Linked DNA regions of Homo sapiens: regions 2, 3 and 4 are each linked to region 1. Evidence: promoter capture Hi-C in human tissues and cell types (Jung and others, 2019). All regions are on one chromosome and are shown on one strand. Each heading gives the region's core, a stretch centred on a gene start or on the middle of the fragment in contact. The rest is flanking DNA. Distances are from core to core; before and after follow the strand shown. Region 1 holds the start of KIAA0930. Region 2 overlaps PRR5-ARHGAP8 (PRR5-ARHGAP8 readthrough). Region 3 overlaps PHF21B (PHD finger protein 21B). Region 4 holds the start of FBLN1 (fibulin 1).

Region 1 (6,883 bases), core at 1-2,500:
GGGGGATGCACTTGTTCTCTGGGACTCAGTTTCCCCAACGGTGAATGAAGGGGTGAATCTGGAAGGCTGACATTCCGTACTCAGCAATGCTGTCACCCCCTCAGAAATCCCCAGCCTAGCCTGGGGGTGGGGTGGGGGGTGGCTGACAATGTGGTATGAAGTCATTCCCTGCACGGAGGAGGGAGGGGTCTTTTCCATGGAGAAAATGACGAACCTGAGACGACAAAAGAGGGGGCTTCTCCTGGGCTTCAGTCTGGGCATGATCCATCAGTAATGGATTACCTCACTGGCTGGGAGACCCCACCCACACCTGCAGTCCCAGGCCCTTCCAAACAATACGAGGCACCCCCATCCCACGCCCCCCAGCAGATCCATGACTTAAAGCCCAGAATCACACCGAGAGGCAGCAGGCCCTGCCCCTCAGCCAAGCGGGCGGGTTCGGGGGGCCATTGCCCAACAGGTCCCTGGATACAGCTAAGGGATGAGAGGGGCCGGTGGGTGCGGAAAGACAAAGGCTTCGGGTAGCAGGAGACAGTGGCCAGGGCACGCTCGCAGCGAGGTCCACCCAGAGCCCAACGAGGGCCCGACCCTGCCGCGCTGGGCTAAGGGTGTACCCAGATCCCACGCCCACACTCCCTACCGCGGTGCTGAGGGCCCGGGGCGGGCTTCCTGGAGAAGGAAGAAGACCCGCAGAGACACGAAGAAGAAGGAGGAAGATGAGACAGACACCCGGACGGACTGACAGGGGGAGACGCCGAATGAGACCCGGGCACAGGGGTGCGGGGCGCTCGTCGGACGGAAAGCAGAGACAGACCCAGATGCAGGGACGGTGGGGGGGGGGCCATGGAGGAAGACAGGGTACCCAGGCAGACCCAGAGACCACGACACCCGCGCAGAGACAGAGATGCGCGGGGCGCACAGAAACACGGACGCGCAGAGGCGGCCCCGGAGACGCTCACCTCTCCCGGCCCGGCCTCGCCCCCGGGTCCCACTCACCGAGGCCGCAGACCTCGCGGCGCAGGCTAAGACGGCCGCGCTCCTCCGCTATGGCACGCAGCATGTGCTGCAGCGAGCGCTCCTCGGCCTCGGCGCCGCCCGCAGGCTCGGGGGCGGCGGCGGCGGGGAGGGCGGGCGGCCCGGCCCGCAGCCCGCCGCGAGCACCAAGGAAGCCACAGTCCGCCTCTGTGCGCGTCGCCGTCGCCGCCGCCGCCGCCACCACCCGCCAAACACAGCACCGGCGAGCGCACCTCCGCGCCGCCGCCGCCCGCGCGCCCCCGGCTCCGCTCGCCCCGCCCCGGCCCGGCCCGGCCCCGGTCCGGCCCCGCCCCTTCCCCGCCCCGGCCCCGCCCCTGTCCCCTCCCGCCCCGCCTCTGAACGGCCCGGACCCACCCCGGCTCCCTGGCCCCGCCCCCTGACCTCCCTTGCCCCGCCCACTTCCAAACGGCCAGTCTCCGCCAATCTTCGGATGCCCAGGACAGCCTCCCTCAAACCGCTCGCGGGGTCCCGCCTCCACCCAAGGTCCTAAACGCCCCACCAACGGGATCACGCCTCTGAGCCCCTCCCGCCGCCCCTTCAGGGCACCTCTCCCCTCCCCCGCTGCTACCCCACGGGATGTGTACTTTGTCACCCGCCCTGTGCGTTGCCACCTCCACCAAGTCCCCTCGGCTGACTTCTGGGAACTTCCTCCGCAGAACCCCTCAAGAGGTCACCTGCTCCCAGAAGGTGGTCTCCTGGGGGACACCGTGGCAAAGCCCTTCCGGCCCCCCTCCTCTGCACCTGGCACAGTGCAGAGTGTTGCGCCTCCATTTCCTCAGCTGCACCATGGGGGACCTTTCCCTGCCTTGCCTCCCCAACATGGGGGAGTGTTGATGAAGGGGGAGGTATGAGGTTAGCTGGGCGTGTCATCCTGATGAAGCCAGGTCTGGCCAGCATCCCTCCGTGTGCTAGTTGTGGCTGATACAGGAAGACACCGGAGAAGCAGCCAGTGGCCTCCCCAAACCTCACGCCTGGTGGTCCATTTCCAAGAACAGGGGGAGATGGAGAGACCAGCATTGATTTCCAGGTCTCTCCAAAGCTAAATCTACATCACTCCCTGCATTCACAGCCTGTGTGTGGACCCCAGACCCATCAAGGTCCCCCTTTCCCCTGTCTGGAGTCCTCTTCTCCCCATTCCTGTGTAACTTGCTTCCTTTGTGTCCCGAGTGTCACATCCTCAAAGAAACTCCCCTGACCGCCTTCCCTCCCTCTCTCTTCCCTTAGTCTGTTTCTCCTTCACAGGGTGACACTTACCTCCTCCCGACACATTGGATACCTATGGGTTCACTTGTTCTCTTCTCTACCGAGGGAGGGGCCTGTCTACTACACAGCTGTTGTCTCAGTACCCAGAACATTGCCTGGCACACATTAGATGCCCAATAAATAGATATGGGCTGCAGGCTGGGCACAGTGGCTCATGCCTGTAATCCCAACACTTTGGGAGGCCGAGGTAGGTGGATTGCCTGAGGTTAGGAGTTCCAGAACAGCCTGGCTAAAATGGTGAAACCCCATCTCTACTAAAAATACAAAAATTAGCCGGGCATGGTAGCACACATTTGTAATCCCAGCTACTCTGGAGGCTGAGGCAGGAGAATTGCTTGAACCTGGGAGGCGGAGGCTGCAGTGAGCCGAGATCCCGCCACTGCACTCCAAGCTGGGAGACAGAGCAAGACCCTGTCCCCCCCCAAAAAAAAAGAAAAGAAAAGAAAAAAAAATGTAGGCTGCATAAACGAAGAATGATGGAGAGGTCTGATGGGGACGCAGGGGTCTTCCTGGGAGGCACAGCAGGAAGGAGCCGTGGGGTTGGGCAGAGCCCCAGAAGGGAGATGGGATCTGGATCCTGCTTCAGGCCTCTGCCCCAGTTTTGTGCCACTGGCCCCTGAACTCTTCAGAGCAGAGCCACATCTGACCCCTCTGTGTCCCCAGTGCCAGGCCCAGGAGGGCTCTGTAGAAAGGTGAGCAGTGAGGGAATGAAGGAAGTGCGCGACCAGCCTCACGTGTATTTCTCTTCTCCAGTGGGCCTGCATCCCTGTCTGTAAAGTGAGGACACTGGCATGAGGGCTGAGGCCTCTGGTTCTGCGTCTGGAGAGCTGGGGTTTGGGCTGGTGGACGTGAGAACTGGGGATGGTGGATCAGACAGCATGAGCGAGTGCTCCAAGGCTGTCAAGTCCAATAGTCACATCCCTCTTTGCCTCCCCAAACCCCACAGCACCCCCTGCCTGTTCCCACTGCCATGCGTTTGCCCACAGTGTTCCCTTGGCCTGAAATCCTTTCTGCTCCGCAACTGTAGTTGCCTTTGGGACCCACATTGCCTGGTTACGCTTGGCCAATGCATTGTGTTCTTATTTGCTTCACAAACCCCCTTTCCCCACCCCACCCTCCTGCACACAGTTGCCTCCGTGTATTCTGTGTCATATGACCAGCATTGAACCAATTCATCCCACTTCCCGTGGCACCCAGCCCAGGACTGGTGCCAGAAAAATATCTGTTGAATGAATGAGTAAACAAACATCGCTTGGGCTCTCTCCTTTGTATTTCAATAATACTCCAGGTATTACCTATACACAGAATTTTCTTTCTTTCTTTTTTTTTTTTTTTTTTTTTGAGGCGGAGTTTTGCTCTTGTTGCCCAGGCTGGAGTACAATGTCGCGATCTCGCCTCACCGCAACCTCCACCTCCCAGGTTCAAGCAATTCTCTTGCCTCAGCCTCCCAAGTAGCTGGGATTACAGGCATGTGCCACCACGCCCGGCTAATTTCATGGAGATGGGGTTTCTCCATGTTGGTCAGGCTGGTCTCGAACTCCTGACCTCACATATACACAGAATTTTCTAATGTCAACAAATGCTAAATCACACTGTGCATGGGAAGAGGGCAGGAGCAGGACTTCTGGGGCTACAGAGCATGTTCTGTTTCTTGATCTGGGGGCTGGTTACACGGGTGTGGTCAGTTTATGAAAATTAAAAGGCTGCACAGCTGGGCATGGTGGCTCACGCCTGTAATCCCAGCACTTTGGGGGGCCAAGGCGGGCAGATCACCTGAGGTCGGGAGTTCGAGACCAGCCTGGCCAACCTGGCGAAACCCCATCTCTACTAAAAATACAAAAATTAGCTGGGCGTAATGGCACACACCTGTAGTCCCAGCTATTCTGGAGGCTGACGCAGGAGAATCGCTCGAACCTGGGAGGCAGAGGTTGCAGTGAGCCGAGATTGTGCCACTACACTCCAACCTGGGCAACAGAGCGAGACTCCATCTCAAAAAAAAAAAAAAGTTAGAAAATCAAAAGGCTGTGTGCTGTGGTTCAAACCTGTAACCACAGCACTTTGGGAGGCCAAGGCAGGCAGGAGGCTGGCTTAGGCCCAGGAGTTTGAGACCAGCCTGGCCAACATAGCAAGACCTCATCTTTACAAAAAAAAAAAAATTAGCCAGGTGTGATGACACACGTCTGTGGTCACAGCTACTCAGGAGGCTGAGGTGGGAGGATTGCTTGAGGCGGGGAAGTCAAGGCTGCAGTGAGCCGCGATCACACTGCTGCACTCCAGCCTAGGCAACAGAGTGAGACCTGGTCTCAAAAAAAAAATATATATATATGTATATATAACATATATATATGTAATATATATAATATATATGTTATATATGTAATATATGTATGTAATATATATATAAAGCTGGCATTTTGTAATTATTTATGCACTTTTCTGTATACAAATATTCAGAATATAAAATAGAATTGAAAGTATATAGGCAGAATAATGGCCCCAAAATGCCCACACCCTAATTCCTGTGCTAATTCCTGTGAATATGTTGCCTTACCTGGCAAAATGGACTTTGCTGACGTGATTTTTTGTTTGTTTGTTTTCGAGACAGGGTCTCACTCAGTTGCCCAGGCTGGAGTGCAGTGGCACGATCTTAGCTCACTGCAACCTCCACCTCCCCAGCTCAATCCATCCTCCCACCTCAACCTCCTGAGTAGCTGGGACTAAGGGTGTGTGCCACCACACCCGGCTATTTTTTGTATTTTTTGGTAGAGACAGGGTTTCACCATGTTGGCCAGGCTGGTCTCGAACTCCCGACCTCAAGTGATCTGCCCACCTCGGGCTCCCAAAGTGCCGGGATTACAGGCATGAGCTGCCACATGGGGCCTAAGAGTACAGACACTGAGATAGGGAGACTATCCTGGGTTATCCAAGTGGGCCCAATCTCATCACATAAATTCTTAAAATCGGGGAACATTTCCTGGCTGTGGTCAAAAAGAGATGTGACAACACAAGAATGGTCAGGTAAATGCAATGTTGCTGGCACTGAAGAGGGAGGAAGGGGCCACAAGACAAGGCATACAGGCAGCTTCCGGAAGCTGGAAGAGGCAAGGAAACAGATTCTCCTACAGTTGCCCCCAGATATGACACAGCCCTGCCTGCACCTTGACTTTAGCTCAGCAAGACCTCAGTTGAACTTCTAACCTACAGAACTGGAAATGTGTTAAGGCAATAACGTTGTAGTAATTATTACAGCAGTGATACCAATACGTGGGCAAGCCTGAGATGTGGGCATTGTGTCAGCTCTCCACCTAAGCGCTTCTATCCCTGAGGTTTATTTTGCAAACACTTAGAACAACAATCAAGCAAAGTTTAGCAGAAAGAAAAAACAACCACAATCCAATTGCTTTAATAGGTCAGTCTTGCTTCATTTTTCAGAGTTCCTGCCCGGGGTTTGCCTAATGCCATCCCTCTACACTATTGTAACAGCGGTGTCCGACAGCACACATTTTTATCTCCAAATGCTTGGGGCTGATCTTATTCAAAGAGCCAGACAGTGTTTTTTTGTTGTTTTGTTTGTTTGTTTGTTTGTTTTTTTGAGACTGAGTTTCACTCTGTGGCCCAGGCTGGAGTGCAGTGGCGCGATCTCGGCTCACTGCAAGCTCCGCCTCCCGGGTTCACGCCATTCTCCTGTCTCAGCCTCCTGAGTAGCTGGGACTACAGGCGCCCGCCACCACGCCCGGCTAATTTTTTGTATTTTTAGTAGAGACAGGGTTTCACTGTGTTAGCCAGGATGGTCTCGATCTCCTGACCTCGTGATCCGCCCGCCTCTGCCTCCCAAAGTGCTGGGATTACAGGTGTGAGCCACTGCGCCCAGCCACCAGACAGTGTTAAGAACAAAAACTTTTTTTTTTTTTGAGACAGAGTCTTGCTCTGTCACCCAGGCTGGAGTACAGTGATGCAATCTCAGCTCACTGCAACCTCCGCCTCCCAGGTTCAAGCAATTCCCCTGCCTTAGCCTCCTGAGTAGCTGGGATTACAGGCGCCTGCCACAATGTGGGGCTAATTTTTGTATTTTTAGTAGAGATGGGGTTTCACCACGTTGGCCAGGCTGGTCTTGAACTCCTAGCCTCAAGTGATACACCTGCCTCGGTCTCGCAAAGTGCTGGGATTACAAGTGTGAGCCATCGTGCCCAGCCACAAAAGCTTCTTTAGAACTCCCCCGCCGTGTTTTAAGTGACTGACAGGCCCAGAGACTTGCCAGTTCAGCTTCGAGGCCCTGGCCACCACCCTCTCCTGTCTAAGCCTCAGTTCACGTCACAGTCTGTATAGGAGGTGGTGGGACTGGCTGATCTCTGAGATCGCTCTTGGCCTTAACATTCTGCAAGACTGTTATTAAACTCCAGCTGTTCATCTTTTCTCCTTGGTCCCCAAGAAGAAAAGATAACTAATTCCCAGTCACGTTAGGTATAAACAGCTCCAATCTCAGGTCCATGAGCTCATGTTCCGAAGGCCAGGTTCCAGGGCTCTCCCATCCACCCTTGTAAATCATTAACATACTTGCCATAGTCCTGTGAGAATGTGTGTCAGC
Region 2 (7,298 bases), core at 2,155-4,654, 390 kb before region 1:
AAGAAAGAAAAGAAATAAAGAAAATGGGCCGGGTGCAGTGGCTCACTCCTGTAAACTCAGCACTTCGGGAAGCCAAGGTGGGTGGATCACCTGAGGTCAGGAGTTTGAGATCAGCCTGGCCAACATGGTGAAACCCCGTCTCCACTAAAAATACAAAAATTAGCTGGGCGTGGTGGTGGACACCTGTAATCCTAGCTACTCAGGAGGCTGAGGCACGAGAACTGCTTTGAACCCAGGAGGCAGAGGTTGTAGTGAGCCGAGATCGCACTGCTGCACTCCAGCCTGGGCGACAGAGTGAGACTTTGTCAAAAAAAAAAAAAAAAAAAAAAAAAAAAGGAAGGGAGGAAGGAAGGTGAAGGAAGGTGAAGACATGGTTCAGCCCGAATGTTTTGATACTAGGTTTGGTGAAGAGTGGAAAGTCATGGAGCTTCAATTCCTTTTGTCATTCCGCCGTCTTTAGAGATAAGGCACCCTCTGGACATAGGGAAGACCCCCTCCCATTAGAAGGTTTTATGATCTGCTACACAGAAGTAGGGGGAGTCAGAGAGAGCCCTTCCCACACCTGCCTTTCTTAGATTCCTTCAGCTCAATAACATATTCAGCATGCCCAGGCTCCATATTTGGGACAGTAGTGTTCCGGACCCCAGCATTCCCCCATCTGGAACTTTCCCCAGGAAGTTTTACAGTCCAGAAACTGAGTTGGTAGATTGTCTCATGTTGCATGAATCCTTCTCTCAGTGCTGTGACTAGGTCACTCCAGGGAAAGAGTTGTGTCTCAATTCAGGAGGTAGCGGTGGAGGTGGGAGTAGGGTGACTACCTAAGTCAGCCTGTTAATAAGGGGCCTTTCTTTGTCAACAAACATGAAGTTCAGTGGTTTGAACAAACCATAAGTTCCGGGGATTTTTTTTATTTTGTTTTTTGTTTGTTTGTTTTGTTTTTGAGGTGAAGTCTCACTCTCACTCAGGCTGGAGTGCAGTGGCACGATCTCGGCTCAGTGCAACCTCCACCTCCCAGGTTCAAGCCTTTCTCCTGCCCCAGCCTGCCGAGTAGCTGGGACGACAGGCCCGTGTCACCACGCCTGGCTAATTTTTTGTATTTTTAGTAGAGACAGCATTTCACTGTGTCAGCCAGGATGGTCTCAATCTCCTGACCTTGTGATCCGCCCACCTCAGCCTCCCAAAGTGCTGGGATTACAGGCATGAGCCACCGTGTCCGGCCTAAACTCCATTTTTTTAGTCAGGAGAACATTTAGTTGAGAAGATTCCTAGATGTTGGCTTGAAGTATCCTTTCATGGTAGAGAGAGAGTGGCAGCAGCTGGCCAGTGAATTCCATAGTTTGCAATTTAGATGTCTTTGGTGATGGCACTGGGTGTTCCGGTGAACTTTCTGAGCAGACTGAGTAGGAGGCACAAGGACTATCCGTACATCATCTGCTGTGATTTCTCTGAAGTTTATATCAAGTCTTCCAGCGTCAGCTTTTGGGGCTTTGGGGAAATGGCAGGTTTTAGTTCTTTGTCATGCCAACTCAGGGGGTAGGAGAAAACTGGAAATGTTAGCTTGGAGCGTCGTAGCCAGATATTGGAGGAAAGGAGAGGAACTGAGAACCCGCAAGCGTGCGCCGTAGTTTTCCACGGGAGCATCATTTCTCTGTACCGTTGCTTCTCTCTTGATTCTCAGTTACAAAATAAGTCTGGTTTCATTAGAATTTGGCCTGATTATTTACATAAGGGCAGCAAGAATGGGAATTGACCTATGTCGGCTCTTTTTAAGTCTACCTTGCTAGAACTTTTAATAAGGAATCTCAGATTCACTTTTTAAAAGCCTCTTGAGGCTAGAAAGCCAAGTTAAAAATTTGCCATCAGGGCCAGCTGCGGTGGTTCACGCCTGTAATCCTAGCACTTTGGGAGACCAAGGCGGGTGGATCACCTGAGGTTGGGAGTTTGAGACCAGTCTGACCAACATGGAGAAATCCCATCTCTACTAAAAATACAGAATTAGCCAGGCATGGTGGCATGCACCTGTAATCCCAGCTACTCGGGAGGCTGAGGCAGGAGGATCGCTTGAACCCGGGAGGCAGAGGTTGCAGTGAGCTGAGATCTCACCATTGCACTCCAGCCTGGGACACAGCGAGACTCTGTCTCAAAAAAAAAAAAAAAAAAAAAAAAAAAAAAAAAAAAAACCATCAGACTTTGCCTGCAGTATCTGTAGATTTGAGAGAATTCCTCTCTTCTCAAGGTTCTCAATATATTTTAAGTTTCCTGGGCCTGCCAGGAAGCGGCCTTGCTTACTCACTGTAACGTCATACATAACACTGAATAAGGCTAGTTGTCATTTCAAGGAATTCCCCTTGTATCTTTTTTTTTTTTTTTTTGAGACGGAGTCTTGCTTTGTTGCCCAGGTTGGAGTGCAGTGGCCTGATCTTGGCTCATTACAACTTCTGCCTCCTGGGCTCAAGTGATCCATCTGCCTCAGCCTCCGGAGTAGCTGGGATTACAGGTGTGCGCCGCCACACCCAGCTAATTGTATTTTTAGTAGAGACGGGCTTCACCATGTTGCCCAGGCTAGTCTTGAACTCCTGACCTCAAATGATCCACCCACCTCAACCTCCTAAAGTGCTGGGATTATAGGCATGAGCCACCATGCCAGGCCCTTGTTATGCATTTTTAACCCTACTTCACTAGTAAGCCCAACTACATAAAGATGTATGCTTGGATTATACTTAATATGGGTAACTCAGAAGATGCAGCTGGTTTTTTTGTTTTGTTTTTGTGTTGAGATGGAGTCTCGCTCTGTTGCCCAGGCTGGAGTGCAATGGCACCATCTCAGCTCACTGCAACCTCTGGCTCCTGGGTTCAAGCAATTCTCCCACCTCAGCCTCCCGAGTAGCTGGGATTACAGGCACCGGCCATCTTGCCTGGCTGATTTTTGTATTGTTGTAGAGACGGGGTTTCACCATGTTGCCATGTTGGCCAGGCTTGTCTTGAGCTCCTGACCTCAGGTGATCTGCCCGCCTTGGCCTCCCGAAGTGCTGGGATTACAGGCGTGAGCCACCGTGCCCAACCTATACAGCTGTTTTTAATAAACTAACAATATCAGACTAATCTTGTCAGAGTTACTCAAGTCACAAGAACTTGAAAAGAATGTTTGGCTTAGTTTCTATATTTCTGAGAGCTTTAGAAATGTTTTATATAAATGCTCATGTATCTCTAAGCCAATTTGAATAGAACTCCTTTAAGGGATTTTATAAATTAACTTGGTAATACCATCAGAGGGAGAATAATTTCACGTATACATAACATACATGCGTAGACATAACATAGATCTGCAAAGAAAAAAAGAATTTTTTTTTAAGACAGGGTCTCCTTCTCCTTGACCTCTGGGCTCAAGCAATCCTCCCACCTCAGCCTCCCAAGTAGCTGAGGCATGCACTACCACACCCAGCTAATTTTTAAATATTTTTTTGTAAAGACAGGGTCTCACCATGTTGCCCAGGCTGGTTTCAAACTCCTGGGCTCAAGTGATCTCCCCACCTCAGCCTCCCAAAGTGCTGGGATGACAGGCATGAGCCACTATGCCTGGCCACAAACCAAGATCTTATAACTTTCATACATAGTTTCATACAAGTTAAGATTACCTGTTGAGGGTGAAAGTTGTTATCAGTATTTCAGGAGAAGGCCCTAAAGATTTTTTTCTTTGGCCAGTTTGTTTCCAAATAGTCCTTTTAACCTTGTTTTTTGTTTTGTTTTGTTTTGTTGTTTTTAACCAAAGGTGTACCTAATCCAATGTAACTCGAAACCCATAAGACTTTTTGTGGCCATGGATACAAGAGATGTTCTCAGAGTCCCCCAGGATCCAAAGTTACCCCACAGATAGCCAAAAGAAAGACAAGCGCCCTCAGAGCTGGTGATGGCTGGTAGGATGTCAGCTGTCGCCGAGTCTGTGTTGCTATGAAGAAATACCTGAGGCTGGGTAATTTATAAAGAAGTTTAATTGGCTCATGTTTCTGTAGGCTTTATAGGAAGCACGGTGTTGGCATCTGCTTGGCTTCCAGGGAGGCCTCAGGAAGCTTTCAATTATGACGGAGGGCAAAGGAGGAGCAGGTGTCTCACGCAGTGCGAGTGGGAGCAAGATGGGGTGAGGTCATGCCACACACTTAACCAGATCTCTTGAGAAATCACTCACTCTCATGAGAACAGCACCAAAGAGATGGTGCTAACCATTTATGAGAAATCTGTCCCCATGATTTAATCACCCGTCACCCATCCCCACCTCCCACATTGGGGATTACATTTCAATGTGAGGTTTACAGGCAACATCATCCAACATATCAGAGTGCAGCTCACATTACTGTCTGGCCAGCTATAAATTCCCTTTTTTTTTTTTTTTTTTTTTTTTTTTTTTTTTTTGAGACAAAGTCTCACTCTGTTGCCCAGGCCAGAGTGCAGTGGCTGAGATTCTCTACTCACTACAACCTCTGCCTCCCGGGTTCAAGTGATTGTCCTGCCTCAGGCTCCCAAGTATCTGGGATTACAGGCACCCGCCACCACGCCTGGCTAATTTTTGTATTTTTAGTAGAGACGGGGTTTCACCGTGTTGGCCAGGCTGGTCTTGAACTCCTGATCTCAGGTGATCCATCCGTCTCGGCCTTCCAAAGTGCTGGGATTAAAGGCGTGAGCCACCGCGCCCGGCCTGTAAATTCTTGGGGCTACATCCTGACCATTGGCTGTTCCCCCAGGCATTTGGAAGCCAAACTGGCCATAAAGGCAAGTTCTCAGGACACAAAACAAGACGAAAGGAGAATCGTATCCCATGATTCTCCTCTTCACAACAAAGGACCCAAGAGACAGAGACAAAGGCAAACAGTGACTCTTCCTGGGAGGCTGAAGATCACCGAGGACTCCTCGAGATCAGATGCGCTGAAGTCAAAACCAAAGAACCCATTCTTCCGAATGTGGCTCTGCTGGTCCAAATTCAGAAAGGAAGAAAACAAAGAGACTTTGACCACCCTCACACAGTCGCGCTGCAGACAGAAATCTGGGAGGCTGACTTGAGTAAGAATTCTTTTTTTTTTTTTGAGACGGAGTTTTGCTCTTGTCGCAAAGGCTGGAGTGCAATGGTGCAATCTCGGCTCACTGCAACCTCTGCCTCCCGGGTTCAAATGACTCTGTTGCCTCAGCCTCCCAAGTAGCTGGGATTACAGGTGCCCACCACCACACCCGGCTAATTTTGTATTTTTAGTAGAGATGGGGTTTCTGCATGTTGGTCAGGCTGGTCTCAAACTCCTGACCTCAGGTGATTCACCCACCTCGGCCTCTGAAAGTGCTGGTATTATAGGTGTGAGCCACCACGACCAGTCTTGAGTAAGAATTCTTTCTTTTGGCCGGCTCTACCAGGGGTCCTGGCTCTCTGTGCAGCTCCCAGACCAAGTGAGGTGTTCCAGCCAAGGGTACCTCATCCCCATGACTAGAAACTGCAGGGAGGGTCAAAATCTTTTCCTTCTCCCCATCTTAGGTTCCTTGGTGGGGGCCCTGTTGCTTGGACTAACAAAAGACAGATTCACAAGAGAAAAACATACCAGTTTATTTACTAGAAGTTGCACATGACATGGGTACCTTCGTAAGGAAACGAAGGCCCAGAGATCCAGTCCACTGAGTGTGCTGATGCCAGGTTGGAAGAAGAGTGGAGAGGCGTGGGAAGTGCGACGGACAGGGGAGTGAGCCTGGGGCAGGAAACTAGGGGGACATGCCATCTTCAGAGATGAGTTTGCCCCTTCCCTCTGGGTATAGGGAAGGCGCCTCTCATAGGATGATCTCATGGCCTGCTCCAGAGGAGAAAGGGGAGGTCAGAGAGTCCTCGAGGCCCAGCCTCCCACATGCAAGCTGTGTGACCTCGGGCTAGTCACCTAACCTCTCAGAGCTCTCTTTCCTCCTCTCTCTACACTGGGGTGGTTGAAATGCTTGACCTCTTGCTCCCTCATAGGGAGTGCTCAGTGACATTGGCGGTTGTGACGCTCAGCTCACCAGTCCTGCCTACTTGCCAGCAGGTATTCTCAGAGGGACCACAGAGCTGAGGGTGACCTGCACCAGTACCCACTTGGGACCATAATTCGTAGATAAGGTTCAGGCACAACACCCAGAGAAGGAAATGGCAGCCACCTGGCTCGGTTGAAATACTCATTTCAAGGGAATTCCTTGTCCATTCAAATGACTGAACAACAGCTTGATTTCATGGAATAATGGCTTTTATTAAGAAGCCAACAGGAATGATCATAGTGGGGAGTCTTGTGTCCTGGCAGTGGGTGTTTGTAGAGCACCCGGTGGTCACCAGCAACTCTGTGCAAGGCTCAGTGGGAGGGTGATTGGTGTGTTGGAGGATGTGGGTACACAGTAGCATAGGCATGCATGTGGCTGAGTGCACACATGTGCATACATGTTCACACATGCACCCGCAGCGGGAACTTGGTGAATACTTGTTGGTTGGTGGTGGTTTTTTTTTTTTTTTGAGATGGAGTTTCACTCTTGTTGCCCAGGCTGGAGTGCAATGGCACCATCTCGGCTCAGTGCAGCCTCTGTCTTCTGAGTTCAAGCAATTCTCCAGCTTCAGCCTCCCATGTAGCTCTGGGATTACAGGTGTGTGCCACCATACCCGGCTTTTTTTTTTTTTTTTTTAAGTAACAGGGTTTCACCATGTTGGGTCAGGCTGGTCTCGCACTCCTGACCTCAAGTGATGTGCCTGCCTCGGCCTCCCAAAGTGTTGGGATTACAGGCATGAGCCACTGTGCCTGGCTGGTTGGTGGGTTTTGACTGGAAGGCTATGGAGCTCCAGTGGTAGATGTGGTTATAAGGGTAACTGGGGGGTCTCAGAGTGGGGGCCAGTTGCATCAGGCCCCTGGAGGGTGGGACACTGCCTTTCCAAGAGCAACAAAGTGTGGGCGATTTGTGGTGCTGAGAATCCTGAGCAGGCAGTTCGTCTAGAGCAGGGTTGCAAACTTTTTCTGTAAAAGGCCAGATAGTAAATATGTTAGGCTTTGTGGGCCTTGTAGTCTCTGTTGCAACTACTCAGCTCTGCCCTGATGAGGCAAAAGCAGCCACAGGCAATGTACAAAATGTCCGTGGCTGTGTTCCAAGAAAACGTTATTGGCAAAAACAGGCAGTGGGCCAGATCTAAGCCATGGGCCGTAGTTTGCCAACCCCTGGTCTAGACCACTCCCATTTATAAAGTGATTCGGCTTTAGCAGCTTCCTGGAAGGTGGTGCTGCTGGCTGATAAAGCAGAGGGATGGAGCTTGTAGAATTCAG
Region 3 (7,298 bases), core at 2,692-5,191, 280 kb before region 1:
TAGTTGTGCTGAGAACTCCGAGAGCTTTCTCAACCCGGAGGCCTGTGTCCTTCGATTAGGAATGTGCACATTGCATCCATATGGTTCTCTCTGCCAATACCCCTGTTTTATCTGAAACTCCTTAGTTAGAGATTTTCCAATTTTCTCAACTTCTCTCACCTAGTCCCATTCCATTAGCGTCCTATTCTACTCTTTGAGAGATCTCCTCAGCTTCATCTTCCAGCCTTCCTTTGATTTTTTTTTTTTTTTTTTTTTTTTTGAGATGGAGTCTTACTCTGTCACCCATGCTGGAGTGCAGTGGCATGATCTTGGCTCACAGCAACCTCCGCCTCCTGGGTTCAAGTGACTCTCCTGCCTCAGCCTCTTGAGTAGCTGGAATTACAGGCGCCTGCCACCACACCTGGCTAATTTTTTATTTTTATTTTTGTATTTTGTAGAGACAGGGTTTTTGTATTTTGTAGAGACGGGGTTTCACCATGTTGGCTAGGCTGGTCTTGAACTCCTGACCTCTGGTGATCTGCCCACCTTGGCCTCCCAAAGTGCTGGGGTTACAGGTGTGAGCCACCGCACCCGGCCCCTCCTTTGATCATTTAACTGCGCAATCTACATTTCCAATGTCTCCTGCTGGTTCCATGGCCGGCCCCGCTGGAGCGCCTGTTCTGATTCAGATGGTATACTGCCTGATTTCTCGGAGGATGAGACAGTTTTGGAAGCCTTCTTCTGCTTCCTGCATGGCCTCCTCTCCCTCTCAGATCCGGTTTCTGTTTTGGTCTCTTCCTTGTTGGAAGCTCCCCTGGCATGTCCTGAGACTGCTGATGATCTGCTCCCATCTCAGGACGAGGCTCGCATGCCTTCTGGAGGGCCTGGTGTGTTGGTGATGCTGAATAACAAATGTCTTCTAGAGAATGATGACATTTTGCCCCGACCCATCTTCTCATACTCTCCACTTTGTGATTCACGCCTTAACTACGGGACTTATCACATTTCTGGGCCTCTTTGTGCCTTGCTCTTGTGTGGGCCTTTGCTCCTGCTGTCTGTCCCCTGCCTGGGTCCTTCCTCCTCCTTTCTAACTGGTCCAAGTGGACAGTAGACACCAGTTCTAGCCAAGTGCTCTCTCAAGGCCCCAAGAAAAGTGTTTGTGCTCAGCAGGTTTCATTCACACCTGGCTGCCCCGGCTCTGACCTGGAGACCAGTCTGTCTCTGCTCCTACCACGGAGAGGAAGCCAGTGATGGGGAAGACTGGCAGGTCATTCAAGATGCACCCAGGTGGTCCCGGTGCTGCAGAGGATGTCTGAGCTGGGCACAGCAGAAGCATCAATGAGAGGGAGCCAGTGCTACCCACGGGAAAAGTCTTCATGGAGGAGCTGATCACTGAAAACAGTAAAGAGATGACCACCAGGGGAACAGGAGGGAAGATATCCCAGGAGATGAAATGGCTTCAGTTGAGACCAGAGTTATGAAAGAAGCCCAGGAGTTCAGGAGATGCAAGCACAGGACCCAACCAGAGCAACAGCAAGGGCAGGGGCTGAGCCAAACGTGAGGCAGCAAAAGTAAGCCTGGCCAGCTTGTGAGAAGTCAGGGCAGCGCCTCCAGGAAGCGCTCTGAGCAGGGCCAGTCTCCACCCCAGAGAGCGGGCCCTCCGCTGTGTGACCTCAGCACCGGACGTGTCTCTAGTCCTGCAACCCTCTCTAATGGCTGAAACCTGAGCATTCCTCACTGCACACGAAATGCTTCACACAAGGCCTGGCACCCAGTAGATGCTAAGTAAACATCCGCCTGAAAAGACAACCATCCCAGGAAACCCCTGGACGCTGAGGCCTCCACAAGCCACGGGACCCAAGGCTGGATCCATTTTTCCATTTCCTGCTGATCTTCAGTTGTCTTGGCTCTGCAGAGACGCCCCCTTCCCTCCACAGCTACCTGAGTTCGGTGTCAGATGACATCAAGACAATTATCTCTTTTTTCCTTCACTGCCCGAAAAATGAGAAAATTCTGGGTCGACACTGCAGTCCGGCAGCACCAGGCAAAGCCCCCCACTCCTGTCCCTCAACGACTATGGTCACCTGCTCCCCAGGTCGTCGCCCAACCCTCCACTGGCTGGAAGTCACTGCTGTCTGCACCCATATTAAGGGGCCATGGGTGACCTGGGCTGCTGGTTCTTCCCATGTCTGTCTTCCCCAAGAGCTGTGTGATAGTCACTGTGTCAACTGGACTGGACCATGGGGTACACAGACATCTGGGCAAGCATTACTTTGGTGTGTCTGTGAGGATGTTTCTGGATGAGACTCACATCTGAATTAGTGGCCTGAGTAAAGCAGGTGGCCCTCACCAGTGAATGAGGGTCTCATCCAACCAGCCGGAGGCCTGAACAGAGCAAACTGTCTCAGTAAGAGAAGTCCTGCTGTCTGCCTGCACTCAGCCTGGACACCAGGGTTTTCTTGCCTTTGGACGCAAACTGATGCATCAGCCTTTCTCAGGTCTCCAGCCTCCTTTTGGACTGGAACTTACAGCATCGACTCTTCAGGGTCTCCAGCTTGCCCACTGCAGATCCTGGGACTTGAGGATCTGTCCCTTCAAAATCACGTGAGTTGATTTTTTTTTTTTTTTTTTGAGAAGGAGTCTCATTCTGTCACCCAGGCTGGAGTGCAGTGGCGCGATCTCGGCTCACTGCAACTTCTGACTCCCTGGTTCAAGCGATTCTCATGCCTCAGCCTCCCGAGTAGCTGGGATTACAGGTACGCGCCACCACACCCGGCTCATTTTTGTATTTTTAGTAGAGATGGGGTTTCACCAGGTTGGCCAGGATGGTCTCAATCTCTTGACCTCGTGATCCACCTGCCTCAGCCTCCCAAAGTGCTGGGATTACAGGCATGAGCCACCGTGCCCAGACTGATTTTTTATACAATTTCAACTTTTATTTTAGATTCAGGGGGTACAGGTGCAGGTTACATAGGTATACTTCGTGATGCTCAGATATGGGGTACAACTGATCCTGTCACCCAGGTAGTGAGCACAGTACCCAACAGGTTTTCAACCCTCGCTCCCCTCCTTCCCTCTCTGCTCTAGGAGTCCCTAGTATCCACTGTTGCCGTCTTTATGTCCCTGTGAATCTAATGTTTAGCTCTTACTTCCAAGTGAAAACGTGGTAATTGGTTTTCTGTTCCTGCTCTATTTGCTTAGGATAATGGCCTACAGGCTGGGCGTGGTGGCTCATGCCTATAATACGAGCACTTTGGGAGGCCTACGTGGGCAGAGCACCTGAGGTCAGGAGTTCAAGACCAGCCTGGTCAACATGGTGAAACCCAGTCTCTACTAAAAATATGAAAATAAGCCAGGCGTGGTGGTGCACCCCTGTAATCCCAGCTATTCGAGAGGCAGAGACAGGAAAATCGCTTGAACCAGCATGGCAGAGGTTGCAGTGAGCCGAGGTTGCGCGCACCACTGCAATCCAGCCTGGGTGACAGAGCGAGACTCTGTCTCAAAATAAATAAATAAATAAATAAATAAATAAATAAATAAATAAATAAATAAGTATAATGACCTCCAGCTGCATTCATGTTGTTGCAAAGGGCATTATTTTATTTTTTTTATGGCTGTGTAGTATTCCATGGTGTATATGTACCACATTTTCTTTATTCAATCCACTACTGATGGGCAGTTAGGTTGTTTCCATGTCTTTGCTATTGTGAGTAATGCTGAGATGTACACACAAGTGCATGTGTCTTTTGGGTAGAATGATGTATTTTCTTTCCAATATATACCCAGTTAATGGGATTGCTGGGTCGAATGATAGCTCTGTTTTAAGTTCTTTGAGAAATCTCCAAACTGCCTTCCATGGTGGCTGAACTAATTTACATTCCCACCAAGAGTGTATAAGCATTCCCTTTTCTCTGCAGCCTCACATAACTTTTTAATGATCTGTAGATGTGCCTCAACTTACGATGAAGTTACATCCCAATAAAGTCACTGTAAGTTGAAAATATCCTAAGTTGAAAATACATTTAACACACCTGGCCTGCTGAACATCATAGCCTAGCCCAGCCTAACTTAGTGTGCTCAGAACACCTAACATTGGCACGGCTGATGGGAGCTGCAGCTCACAGCTGCTACCTAGCATTGCAAGTGAGTATCACATGGAATAGTGCTAGCCTGGGAAAAGATCAAAATTCGAAGTATGTTTTCTACTGAACGTGTATTGCTTTTGCACCATGATAGAGTCACAAAAGCGTAGTAAGTGAAACCATCATCAGTCAGGGACCATCTGTACACCACACATCCTACTGGCTGTATTTCTCTGGGGAACTCTGACAAATACAAGCTGGGTCCCATATAACCCAGCGTCTTGCTCAGAGGGAACACCAGGTACTATATGGACACATGCCTGGATGAAGAGCTGCCTGCAGGTGCCTCACGGAACGGTGGGGGATGGAGGCTGGGGCAGGGTGGGGGCGTGCTTTACTTGCGATGTGGCCAGAAGACTCAGCCCCGATGCATTTAGAGGCCCTACAAGAACACCTCATAGCACCAGGAATAGAGCCACGCAGTACAGTTTTCTCTTCCAAGCACCATGATGATAAAACAAATCATGACTCGTTCTACCTTTGCATTACTTCATGGTTTGCAAGGTACTGGCTCATCCGGTTCTTTCAACAACCCTGGGCAGACATTGCCATCTGGAAATGAGGAAGCTGAGCTCTCTGGGGGCACAGGGGCTGCCCCCCAGATCCCTCCTCGTAACAGAATCAAGATCTCAGCTTCTCACAAGGACACTCTGCAGCTGTGACATGGACTCCCTGCTCTCCCTTCTGGGAACAGAGGGGAAACCTCATGGTAGGCCTGGCCTGGCAGCCACGCTCACATCACTGCAGCAGCCCCGAGGGCAAGACAGCACACTGGTGACGGAGGGCGACCCGCCACGCTCACACCACTGCAGCGGCCCCGAGCGCAAGACAGCACACTGGTTAGGGAGGATGACCCACCATGCTGAACTGTGTTTTGAGGGTACTGAGGGTGGATCAGCCCTCACTGTTAAGGATTTTGTTTTTTTACCTAGAAATAAAGTGACTTCTATGAAGCCCTCACTTCTATCAAGCAGGGTCTGAGAGCCCTAAGATGACGTGACCCATGGTTTCTCCAATCCTTTCTCAGCAACCCTCGTCATGGTCATCATCATCCCCAGCAAGAAGTGGGGCTGAAGGACGAAAGAAGAGAACGGATAAGAAGATGCTTTGTAAACAGCAAGGCAGCCTCCAGGCACTCACCGCAGACTTTGTTTTAACTCAGAGAACCCGAGGCCTTCCCTGGCTGTACGCTCCCAGGGGCCATGTGGGGCTGAGTCCCATGCCAGGCCCAGCACCTGAACTCAGCCCACAGCAGAGTCAGGTGACATCTGAAGGACAAACACCACCAAAGTTCGGAGAAGCAGGCCCACCCCACACCTCTGCTCAAAGCTTCTCTCTCCATGTGGGGGACCCCAAGGGCCAGCCACACAAGACATTTCTTAATTTTGTGGACACACCTGTCACCTGCCTTTGACTCAAATCATTGACTTCCCGGTAATGAATCAAAGCCTGGCACACAGAGGGCACTCAGGGTCATCTTTGGAAGGGCACTGGCTCCAGGGCCAGCCAGCTGTGTTCCAGCCCTGACCTTGGCCCCGTCCAGCTGTGTGTTGGGAGGGTTGCTGGAAGCCTCGGCTTCCTTCTCACAGGAGTGGACCCAACAAGAGCAAGAGCATGTGTTTCCTGGGGCTGTGGGGAAGATGAAACAGATGAATATCTGTACGTATGTGCTGCCACTAGACAGTGACAAACACAGAGGATTCAATATACTCGTTAATATTAATATTCACCGAGGCCTCAACCCTCTGTCTTCCCTGCATCACTGTTTAACCATTATCTTCCCTAAACACAGACCCACCCAGAGACACATTCAACAGTGAGGCCACTCTTCCCAATGCAGCCTCGGCCCGAGGGAGGATGGGACTTCGCGTGGTGCACCCCGGCCCCCCTGCACTGACTCTCGCACCCCTGAACCTGGGGTCTCCCACTGAGCAGCTCAGGCCCGGCCATTTGGCAACCCTGGGGGCGCAGAGGAGGACCACTCCCAAACCTCCGATCTTCAGCAGCGAAACAACAGCCCCTGACTCGGCAGGAGAAGATTTTACTCACTGCGGCTCAGCATTTAAATGACCCGATTATGCTAATTCCAGCTGCAGTGATTAGTAACTACATTTTAAAGGGAGATGACTCCCAGGGTGAGGTCTTTGGGGAAAAGTTTTTGCCTGCGGCACAAGTTCCCATGTGACTTTAGACAACCAGTGGGTCTACTCTGTTCATTCATTCATTCACTCATTCATTCACTTATTTTCTAGGAGGGATTTTAAAAGCCTCTTTTTTTCCATCCCCAGTCTCGGGCCCAAGTCTCCTGGCCACCTGACCTCCCGGAGACTCACAGTAAACTGGGCCTGAAGCCGCCTCTCAGGCCAGTTGTCAGTGCAGCAGGTGTGGACCAAACCTGCTCTTGCTGCCCTCTGCAGTGTGAGGCCGGGCAGCACCTTAACATCTCTGAGCCTTGGCTCCTGTCCGTACACTGGAGATGAGGTGGTTGGGAAAACAATGCACATAGGGTGCCTGGGGCAGGGGCATCTCAGGGGCTCACGTCCTTTCCCTCCCCTGTGATATGGGGGGGCTCCCAACAGGGTGCCTGCAATGTGGCGTGAACACCGCAGCCACTCTGAGTCCCAGCCTGGGACTCAACCGGCTTGAACAGCAGCCCGAAGACGGGCTTTGCTGGACCATCCCCCTGTGCCACCTGTCCAGGGCAGCTGCCAGGCCAGGCTTCCTGACCTCTGAACACAGCCGCCTCTGGCCAACTCGGCTGCACACCTGCTTGTATGTGGATGGCCACGCTCATCCCCCTCAAGATGCCTCCCAGCCTCTTCCCCTCTGCACAGCCCTCAGATGTGGGTCCTTTGGGTCTGTGCCTATCCCTCCCCCGCCACCACTACACTAGCCACCTGCACCCAGTGGAGCTCACCATCTGTCCAGCCAGAACTCAGTCACCCTGCCCCACCCTCCCTACCCCATAGGTTCTGCCACTTCCGACTTTTTCCATCCTGCACGGCCCTGGTCCTCCTGTCAGTCCAGGTTCTCACCATTTTCCCAGTTCTTGGCTGAGGGGTTTCCCTCTATCACCCCAGATGCAGCCTCTCCTCCCTGCCTCCTTTCCCAGCACCCCGAGCTGAGACGATTCCCCCGGCCCCCCAGGTGTTCTGGCTGTCTGGGCCGTCTGTCTCC
Region 4 (7,298 bases), core at 3,228-5,727, 260 kb after region 1:
GTAAAATAATAGCTGCAGTTTAAGCATGGTGTTCACATGAGTTCCTTGTGTCTTCCAAGTCCTAGGGTCGGTGTGGAGTGGGCGAGGTCAAGGGCCCATCATGGATGGTGGATGCCTGCACACACAATGGGCTGCATTACACAGGAGAACACTGAGTTTGGGGAATTTACCGATTTTCCGGTAAACTTGTCCAGAGGGAGATGGTACCTCCTCCTTTGAGGTTGCTTTTTGCAAACACGACCCTGAGACACGGGTACAGAGTGACCAGGGCTTTGCATTTGTGGCATACTCAGCAAGAATGTGCAGGAATGCCCGTGCCCATGATGGGTTCTTCTCCCAGCACCTGGGTGTGGCTCACCTGGACTGCAAGAATCTCAGGCCTATGATCTTCCAGTGGGCCTCTGGAAGCTGGATGTGCTGAGAACTAGAGAAGGGGGCCGAGAGTCAGCCTGGGTTTTGGGGTCTGAAGCATGCTTAGAAGCATCCTGGTCCATCTCCTGCATTTTGCAGATAGGGAAACTGAGGCCCAGAAAGGGACTTGCCCAGAGCCAGACAGTGAATGAGGAGGGGGTCAGGACTGGTGCTCCCCTGTGTGGTCCTGAAGGCACATCACTGTCACCACCAGCACAGCAGCTGACAGTGATTACATTACAGAGTTTTCTCTGTGGGGCTTATGTGATGAGAGTCAGCATCTCCTTCAATTCTCACGACCGTGCAAAGTGCAAAGTCCTAATCCTTGCCCCACGTGACAGATGAGGAAACAAGGTACCAAGAAGTCAAATGCTCAATGCCACAGAGCCAGAGAGTAGCGAGCTTGGATTGGAACCCAGGTGGTCTGGCCTCAGACCCTGTCCCAGGCTGTCAGGACCTCTAGCTTGTCCTGGGGGATAGGGGTCCATGGTGGTGCCTACTTCCCTGACACCCAGTGCCTGGCTTTCCAAGTCACCAGCCACAGGGACAAGAGGATGTGGAGAGGCCATGGAGGACAGGCCTGGGATGAGGACTAGAGTGAGTGCCTAAAAAGGGGGCGCCTTGGCTGGGCGCCACGGCTCACGCCTGTAATCCTAGCACTTTGGGAGGCTGAGGCAGGCGGATCACAAGGTCAGGAGTTCGAGACCAGTTTGACCAACACAGTGAAACCCCGTCTCTACTAAAAATACAAAAAATTAGCTGGGTTTGATGGTGTGTGCCTGTAATCCCAGCTACCCCCGAGCCTGAGGCAGGACAATTGCGTGAACCCGGCAGACAGAGGTTGCAGTGAGCCAAGATCGTGGCATTGCACTCCAGCCTGGGTGACAGTGTGAGACTTGCCTCAAAAAAAAAAAAAAAAAAAAAAAATGGTGGGGGCTGTGCCTCAGAACAGGAGTAAGCTCTTGAAGCTTCAGGAAAGGCTGGGAGAGGCCAGGTTTCCATGTCCTCTCTCCTGGCTCTGGCCTCCCTCCCCAGCTGTTGCAGGCTTGGCTCAGCCCTCCTCCTCCCAGCAGTCCCTCTGCCTGCCTAGGGCAGTGTCAGTGCCTAGCTGAATGTAGGAGTCACCTCCTCCTACTGTCCCTGTTTCCTCATCCCCACCCCCTTCTCAGCCACCCACAACACAGCCACTCCCTCCCCATCCCCAGAAAGGGCCCCGGTCACATCGCCAGCGGCCACCTGCTCCATCCCCATTGGGACTTCTCAGTCCTGGCTTCACTGAGCACTGGGCCACACTGGGCAGTCCCAGCCAGAATCACTTTTTTTTTGCTATCACCCAGGCTGGAGTGCAGTGGTACAATCTTGGCTCACTGCAACCTCCGCCTTCAGGGTTCAAGCAACTCTCCTGCCTCAGTCTCCCAAGTAGCTGGGACTACAGGCATGCACCACGATGCCCAGCTAATTTTTGTATTTTTAGTGGAGATGGGGTTTCATCATATTGGCCAGGTTGGTCTCGAACCCCTGACCTCAAGTGATCCACCCACCTCGGCCTCCCATAGTGTTGGGATTACAGGCATGAGCCACCACGCCCTGCCCAGAATCACTTTTTGATTCCTTCTTGGATATTGCCTTCTCCTGGTTTCCTTCTACCCCTCTGCCTGTTTCTACGTCTTCTTTCTGAATCCCCCAGGTCCCCTGGTTCCCCCTTCGCCCTCCACCACCTTCCCTTAGTCATCTAGACTCCTTCCAGGGCACCCCATTCTCCGATGGCTTAAACGAATTAAGTTAATACCAAAGTAGTAATGAGTTCCCAACCTGTTCCAACTCAGAAATGCCTCCCTCGGGCCATCTGCTGATGTGCTGTTTCCGCACCCCACCCCATCCAAAGTCAAAACGGACCAGGATCTCTGGTGCCTCCAAACTTTTGCAGAGACATCAGGAAAGCTGGCACCACCAAGGAAACCCTTCCCACCTCTGCTCACCTTTCACTGGCCAGTCGCATGTCACCTCTTCCTGAGGGGCCTCCTTAACCTCAGAGGCGTGAGCATGCTGGTCCCCTTGGTAAGCTTTCCTGGGCTCTCTGCAAACTTCAAACTTATAAGACACCCTGTGGGGAGATGAGTTCTTGTCCTTTTGTTTTTCATTTTAAAATTTAACATGTGACCGGGCACGGTGACTCACGCCTGTAATCTCAGCACTTTGGGAGGACAAGGCGGGTGGATCACCTGATGTCGGGAGTTCAAGACCAGCCTGACCAACACGGAGAAACCCCGTCTCTACTAAAAATACAAAATTTGCCAGGCGTGGTGGTGCATGCCTGTAGTCCCAGCTACTCAGGAGGCTGAGGCAGGAGAATCGCTTGAACCCGGGAGGTGGAGGTTGCAGTGGGCTGAGATTGCGCCACTGCACTCCAGCCTGGGCAACAAAAGCAAAACACCATCTCAAAAAAACAGAAAGAAACAACATGTATTCAGAAAAGGGCACGTACCATAAATGAACAGCTCAATAAATTCTCACAAACTGAGCCCAACCTTGTAACCAATACCCAGAGTAAGAAAGCTGAACCTAACCAGCCCCCGAAAGCCCAGCACGCTCCCACTCCAGGATCACCACTCTCCTGACCTCTGAACTGTTCTTGCCTTTTTTTTTTTTTTTTTTTTTTTTTGAGACGGAGTCTCACTCCGCCGCCCAGGCTGGAGTGCAGTGGTGAGATCTCGGCTCACTGCAACCTCCGTCTCCCGGGTTCAGGCGATTCTCCTGCCTCAGCCTCCCGAGTAGCTGGGACTACAGGTGTGCACCACCATGCCTGGCTAATTTATTTTTATTTTTATTTTTAGTAGAGACAGGGTTTCACCATGTTGGCCAGGCTGGTTTCGAACTCCTGACCTCAGGCAATCCGCCCACTTCATCCTCCCAAAGTGCTGGGATTACAGGTGTGAGCCACCGCCACCGGCCTGTTCTTGCCTTTTATGTAAATGGAATCATGCAGCGAGTGTTCCTTTGTGGCTGACTCTATTACTCTGACTTACGTCTGTGAGATTTACCCGTTATGTGAGTTGCGGATCATTCACTCCTGTTCCGTTTGTCGTGCTCCTAAGCCCGAATACTCCACGATATTCATCTGCCTTGATGACGCTAGGCTTCCCAATTGGAGGAATTATGAATGTGCGGCTACATGTCTTTCTGTCTTTTGGAGCACATGTTGTATGCGTTTCTGCTGAGTGTAAGGCTGGGCGGGGCGTCGGTGGCTCAAGGGGTCCATGGTGAACTCACAGGAACACCGCTTTGAGCTGCCCAGTGGCGTTCCTATGCGTCTCATCCAGTTCCTCCGCATCTTCACCTGCACCATTTTATTCTTCTTCTTTGGAAAATAAATCTACTTGTGGTTCCAAAGCCTAACTCATCCTCAGTAACCCCGGTAGCTATGAATTCCTATACAAGAGGCTCCCGCAGGCCCAGCGCCAAAGCTGCCTCCCCTGCAGCCTCGGTGACTTCCCGGGTCTCTCCCTCCGGCCCTGGTGTCCCGGGTGAGCCCAGCACACGTTGGGATTTTGGTTGTTTGTTGGCCTGGCCCGACTGTCCCTGTCTCTGAGGGCAGAGTCGGGTCCCATCCCGGGACACGCCTGGGGTTAGCCACCGACCTGCAGCCTCCCGGCCGAGGGTGCGGGGTTGGCGGTAAGGCCTGCCCCAGTGCCCCCCAGCAGCCGGGCCTCCGACTGCAGGCCCGGGTCCCCGCTCCTCCGCGCGGAGTCGGGCGGGGATAACCTTTGATCCCGAGCCCTCCCCTCGAGAGGGGGTGGGGGGAGGAGGGGATCGGGTTTCACGGAGTGTTGGGGGATAGGACTGGGGGCATCCGGCCCGAAGGCGCCCCCTCTGTGCCCCCTCCGGGGAAGTCTGGGATCCAGGCCCTCGCCCCCAGCCGTGGGCGCGCGCCCCTCGCAGCCGGGGTCCGGGGAGGGAGGGTCCCGGCAGGGGGCGCCGGGGAGGGAGGACCAGGAGACCCGCGGCCCCGCCTCCGCCGCGCCCTCCTCCCGGGCGGGATAATTGAACGGCGCGGCCCTGGCCCAGCGTTGGCTGCCGAGGCTCGGCCGGAGCGTGGAGCCCGCGCCGCTGCCCCAGGACCGCGCCCGCGCCTTTGTCCGCCGCCGCCCACCGCCCGTCGCCCGCCGCCCATGGAGCGCGCCGCGCCGTCGCGCCGGGTCCCGCTTCCGCTGCTGCTGCTCGGCGGCCTTGCGCTGCTGGCGGCCGGAGGTAGGGGCGTCCCGGGTCCGCCGCCCCAGCTTAGGGTCCCGACCCCCTCGGCCTCGCGCTCCCTGCGAGTTTCGGAACCACGGGGACTCGGAGTCCGTGCGTTGCCCTGCGCGGCGCCCCCGGACTGTCAGCGCCGAGGCCTCGGCGACGCCCCCCTCCCCCACGGCCAGCTCCGGTCCTCATCTCCTCCCCGGCCTGGGGACTTGTTTCAAAACCGGATTCCCCCACCCCTCAAACACACCGTCCTACCCCAGTCCTAGCAAATCCAGCCGGCTCCGGGGGCCGCATCCCGGGCCCTGGGGGTTCAGGGGCGCTAGCTGGGCTGGGGGACGCTGGCTGGGGGTTACCGAGCCCAGGGCGCCTTGCACTTGACGCTGGAAGCGCCCTCGGCTATCTTTCCTCACCGCTTCCCGCCTCCACCCCCAGGTAGGAGCTGTTGTACCCAGCTTGCGGATGTGAAACTTGAGCCTGGAGGGTGGGAAGCAGTCTTTTCCCCAGGAGACACTAGCGGTCCTGGGATAGGGGCTGGAGAGGAAGAAATGAGAAAGCCAGGGAGCAGCCTGGAGGTTTTTGGGGCGTAGCTGGGAGGATGGAGGGGATGCGGACCTGGCCACCTCCTCCCTGCCTCCCTCCCGGGACAGAGGGCCCAAGGCAGTGGTTCTGCCGGGCTCGGTGCTCAGCGGGGACTGGGGACTGGTCACTTCCACCAACGGCAAGGGGGATGGAGTTTTCCAAGAGCAGATCTGATCGATGGCCCAGACCTTAGGCCCCAACTCTGGGACTGACAGCTCCGGGACAGTGCCCACCCAGCCCGCGCTTTTCTCCCCTCTAACCCTCAAGGCCTGGTCCCTGGGGGGACTGCCACGAGGTCCTCTGATCAGAGCAGCTGCTGGGCGGCAGAGCTATGACCTGTGACCTCTCTGCTGACCCGTGGCTTCTCAGAGCCACTAGCCAGGCCCGGCACTCCTGGCGTCTTTGTTTCTCCAGTGGCCCAGGTCCAGGGGAGTGCCCTAGACCACCCTCAGAATCCGAGTCTTAATCCCTGGTTTAGTTGAGTTCCTTTTAACCTCTGGTGACCGCCTTTGTTAGTCAAAAGGTCGCTTGTCCCAACTAATGCTCACTGGGGGATTCCAGGAAGGGGGCTGAAGGGGGCTGGAGGGGGAGGGGAGGCTGGGAGCTGAGCTCTACAGAGCTTTCTTGACTGGCTGGCTGCAGCAGAGCCCTGTGGAGCTCTGATTGTTCAGGCGGTGCTGGGCACGGCCTGGGCACCTCGTGGGGTTGGAGATGGTGTGGGGAGGCGCAGAGCTCAGTGTTGGCACCAGGAGCCTTCGCAGCCCCTGGGGGCTCCCTGGAGGCTCTTTAGAAGAGATGGAGCTTGATGTAAGGGGAGCGCGGGAAGAGGGCATTCCAGCAAGCAGCAGGCCGGGTGGCTGCCAGCTGGAGGGAAAACCCCGAGGGGCCCTGGGTGATGGGTGGGTGGGACATCCGAGACTCCTGTTAGAAAAGGAAGGAGCCTCAGAGGCCCCGATTGTGTCGATGAGGAAGCTGAGGGCCTGAGAGAAGGCGTGGTAAAACTCTCCCTGGCCCCGGAGTCTCTGCGTTCCCTCTCACTGTTCTTTTCTGTCTGCGGTTTGCGAACAATTTCTCCCTATGTGTGTGTGACTGAATGAACACCCCAGGACTTGCGGGCCCAGTGTGGCTCACTGCTGAGCCACAGAGAAGTTTGTAATTGGAAGGGTTTAAAAAAGCCTCCTAATTGCACACTTCGATAAAAGCAGCTGGATGTCCTGTGGGCCTTTTGTTTCTTTTGGGGAGAAGTCTCTTTGAGTTTCAACAGGTTTAATTTGGTACAGTTTGGGAAGGGGCTTTTGAAGACTGCCTGGCCCCTATCTGCAGCTGTGAGGCCCCCGAAGCCCTGTATGTAAGGCCACAAGTGGCACCGCCCCTGCTCTCAGAGAGCTGTGGGGCCGCAGATGGTGAGCCTGTTAGCTGATCTGCAGAAACTCCTTTGGCGACGGCCGCTTAAATGGAGAAGGGCGCTGATCTTTCTTGCCAAACGGCCGAGAGGAGCCGCCTGTCTGTCCTGTGTCTGTCCGTCCCGTTGGGCTTTACTGAGAGCTGGGTGGGAGGGAGTGGAGAGGAGGAGGTGTTAGGAAAAGACGATTGTGTTTTCTCCAAGGCTTTCTTGGCCTCTGGCTGCAGCCGGGCAGCGTTTCCGACTGATTAAAAGAAAGTTGGGAGGGAGAACAAAGGCCAGGGAGGACTTGGCTTGAAAACGTGTGGTCTGTGCCGCCACTCCTGGAAGTTTCCCAGTCAGGAGGTGGGGGCCAGGGCACTGAATGCATGAAGATGAGACTCTGTGCCATGGGGGTCAGGGCTGGGGCCTCTCCTGCAGCACCCACAGCTCTGGCTCACGCCCCGCTCCTGGCCCTGCTGAGTGCCCCCCAACTCAGGGCTGCATTTGCCACCCCTGTTAGGTGTGTAGGGCAGGAGTAGGGGCACGCGGCTGACTCATCTTCAGGTCCTGGAGGGCTCCACGGGCCTTGTGAGACTAGAAATCAGTTTGCATCAGAAAAAGCCATGAGATGGTTTGGTGGTTTTCTCATTTATAAAATGAAGGGAACAAAAACCTACTTAGG

Evidence for each region. The method cuts DNA at HindIII sites, captures the fragments that hold promoters and counts their contacts. A contact is called where the count stands out against the background at its distance.
Region 2: a fragment that was not itself captured here is called in contact with the fragment with the promoter of KIAA0930 in region 1 in 1 of the 25 tissues and cell types used here (H1 embryonic stem cells).
Region 3: a fragment that was not itself captured here is called in contact with the fragment with the promoter of KIAA0930 in region 1 in 1 of the 25 tissues and cell types used here (H1 embryonic stem cells).
Region 4: a contact is called between the fragment with the promoter of FBLN1 here and the fragment with the promoter of KIAA0930 in region 1, in 1 of the 25 tissues and cell types used here (neural progenitor cells).

The regions. Positions count from the first base shown.
Region 1 is chr22:45,239,644-45,246,526 of GRCh38, forward strand. KIAA0930 reads right to left here and starts at 1,251. Exons shown (of 10, transcript NM_001009880.2): 1 at 997-1,251. The coding sequence starts at 1,060. RefSeq lists silencers at 825-914, 1,065-1,124, 1,285-1,344, 1,375-1,574, an enhancer at 6,770-6,883 and a cis regulatory region at 6,836-6,849. The HindIII fragment of the contact is 11,413 bases long and covers 1-6,883 here.
Region 2 is chr22:44,851,883-44,859,180 of GRCh38, forward strand. The region is part of intron 13 of PRR5-ARHGAP8 (PRR5-ARHGAP8 readthrough); the gene reads left to right. The region is part of intron 10 of ARHGAP8 (Rho GTPase activating protein 8); the gene reads left to right. Among named protein-coding and RNA genes, the nearest start is that of ARHGAP8, 100 kb to the left of the region's middle. The HindIII fragment of the contact is 9,411 bases long and covers 1-7,298 here.
Region 3 is chr22:44,958,365-44,965,662 of GRCh38, forward strand. All of the region lies in intron 2 of PHF21B (PHD finger protein 21B), which reads right to left. Among named protein-coding and RNA genes, the nearest start is that of PHF21B, 48 kb to the right of the region's middle. RefSeq lists enhancers at 1,623-2,206, 4,978-5,600, 5,601-6,224, 6,225-6,846, 6,847-7,298. The HindIII fragment of the contact is 9,378 bases long and covers 1-7,298 here.
Region 4 is chr22:45,498,406-45,505,703 of GRCh38, forward strand. It overlaps FBLN1 (fibulin 1), which reads left to right and starts at 4,478. Exons shown (of 17, transcript NM_006486.3): 1 at 4,478-4,659. The coding sequence starts at 4,581. It overlaps LOC105373066 (a long non-coding RNA gene), which reads right to left and starts at 2,582. Exons shown (of 3, transcript XR_938305.2): 1 at 2,391-2,582; 2 at 359-424; 3 at 1-115. RefSeq lists enhancers at 853-1,489, 5,092-5,705, 5,706-6,319, 6,320-6,933, 6,934-7,298. The HindIII fragment of the contact is 10,534 bases long and covers 1,927-7,298 here.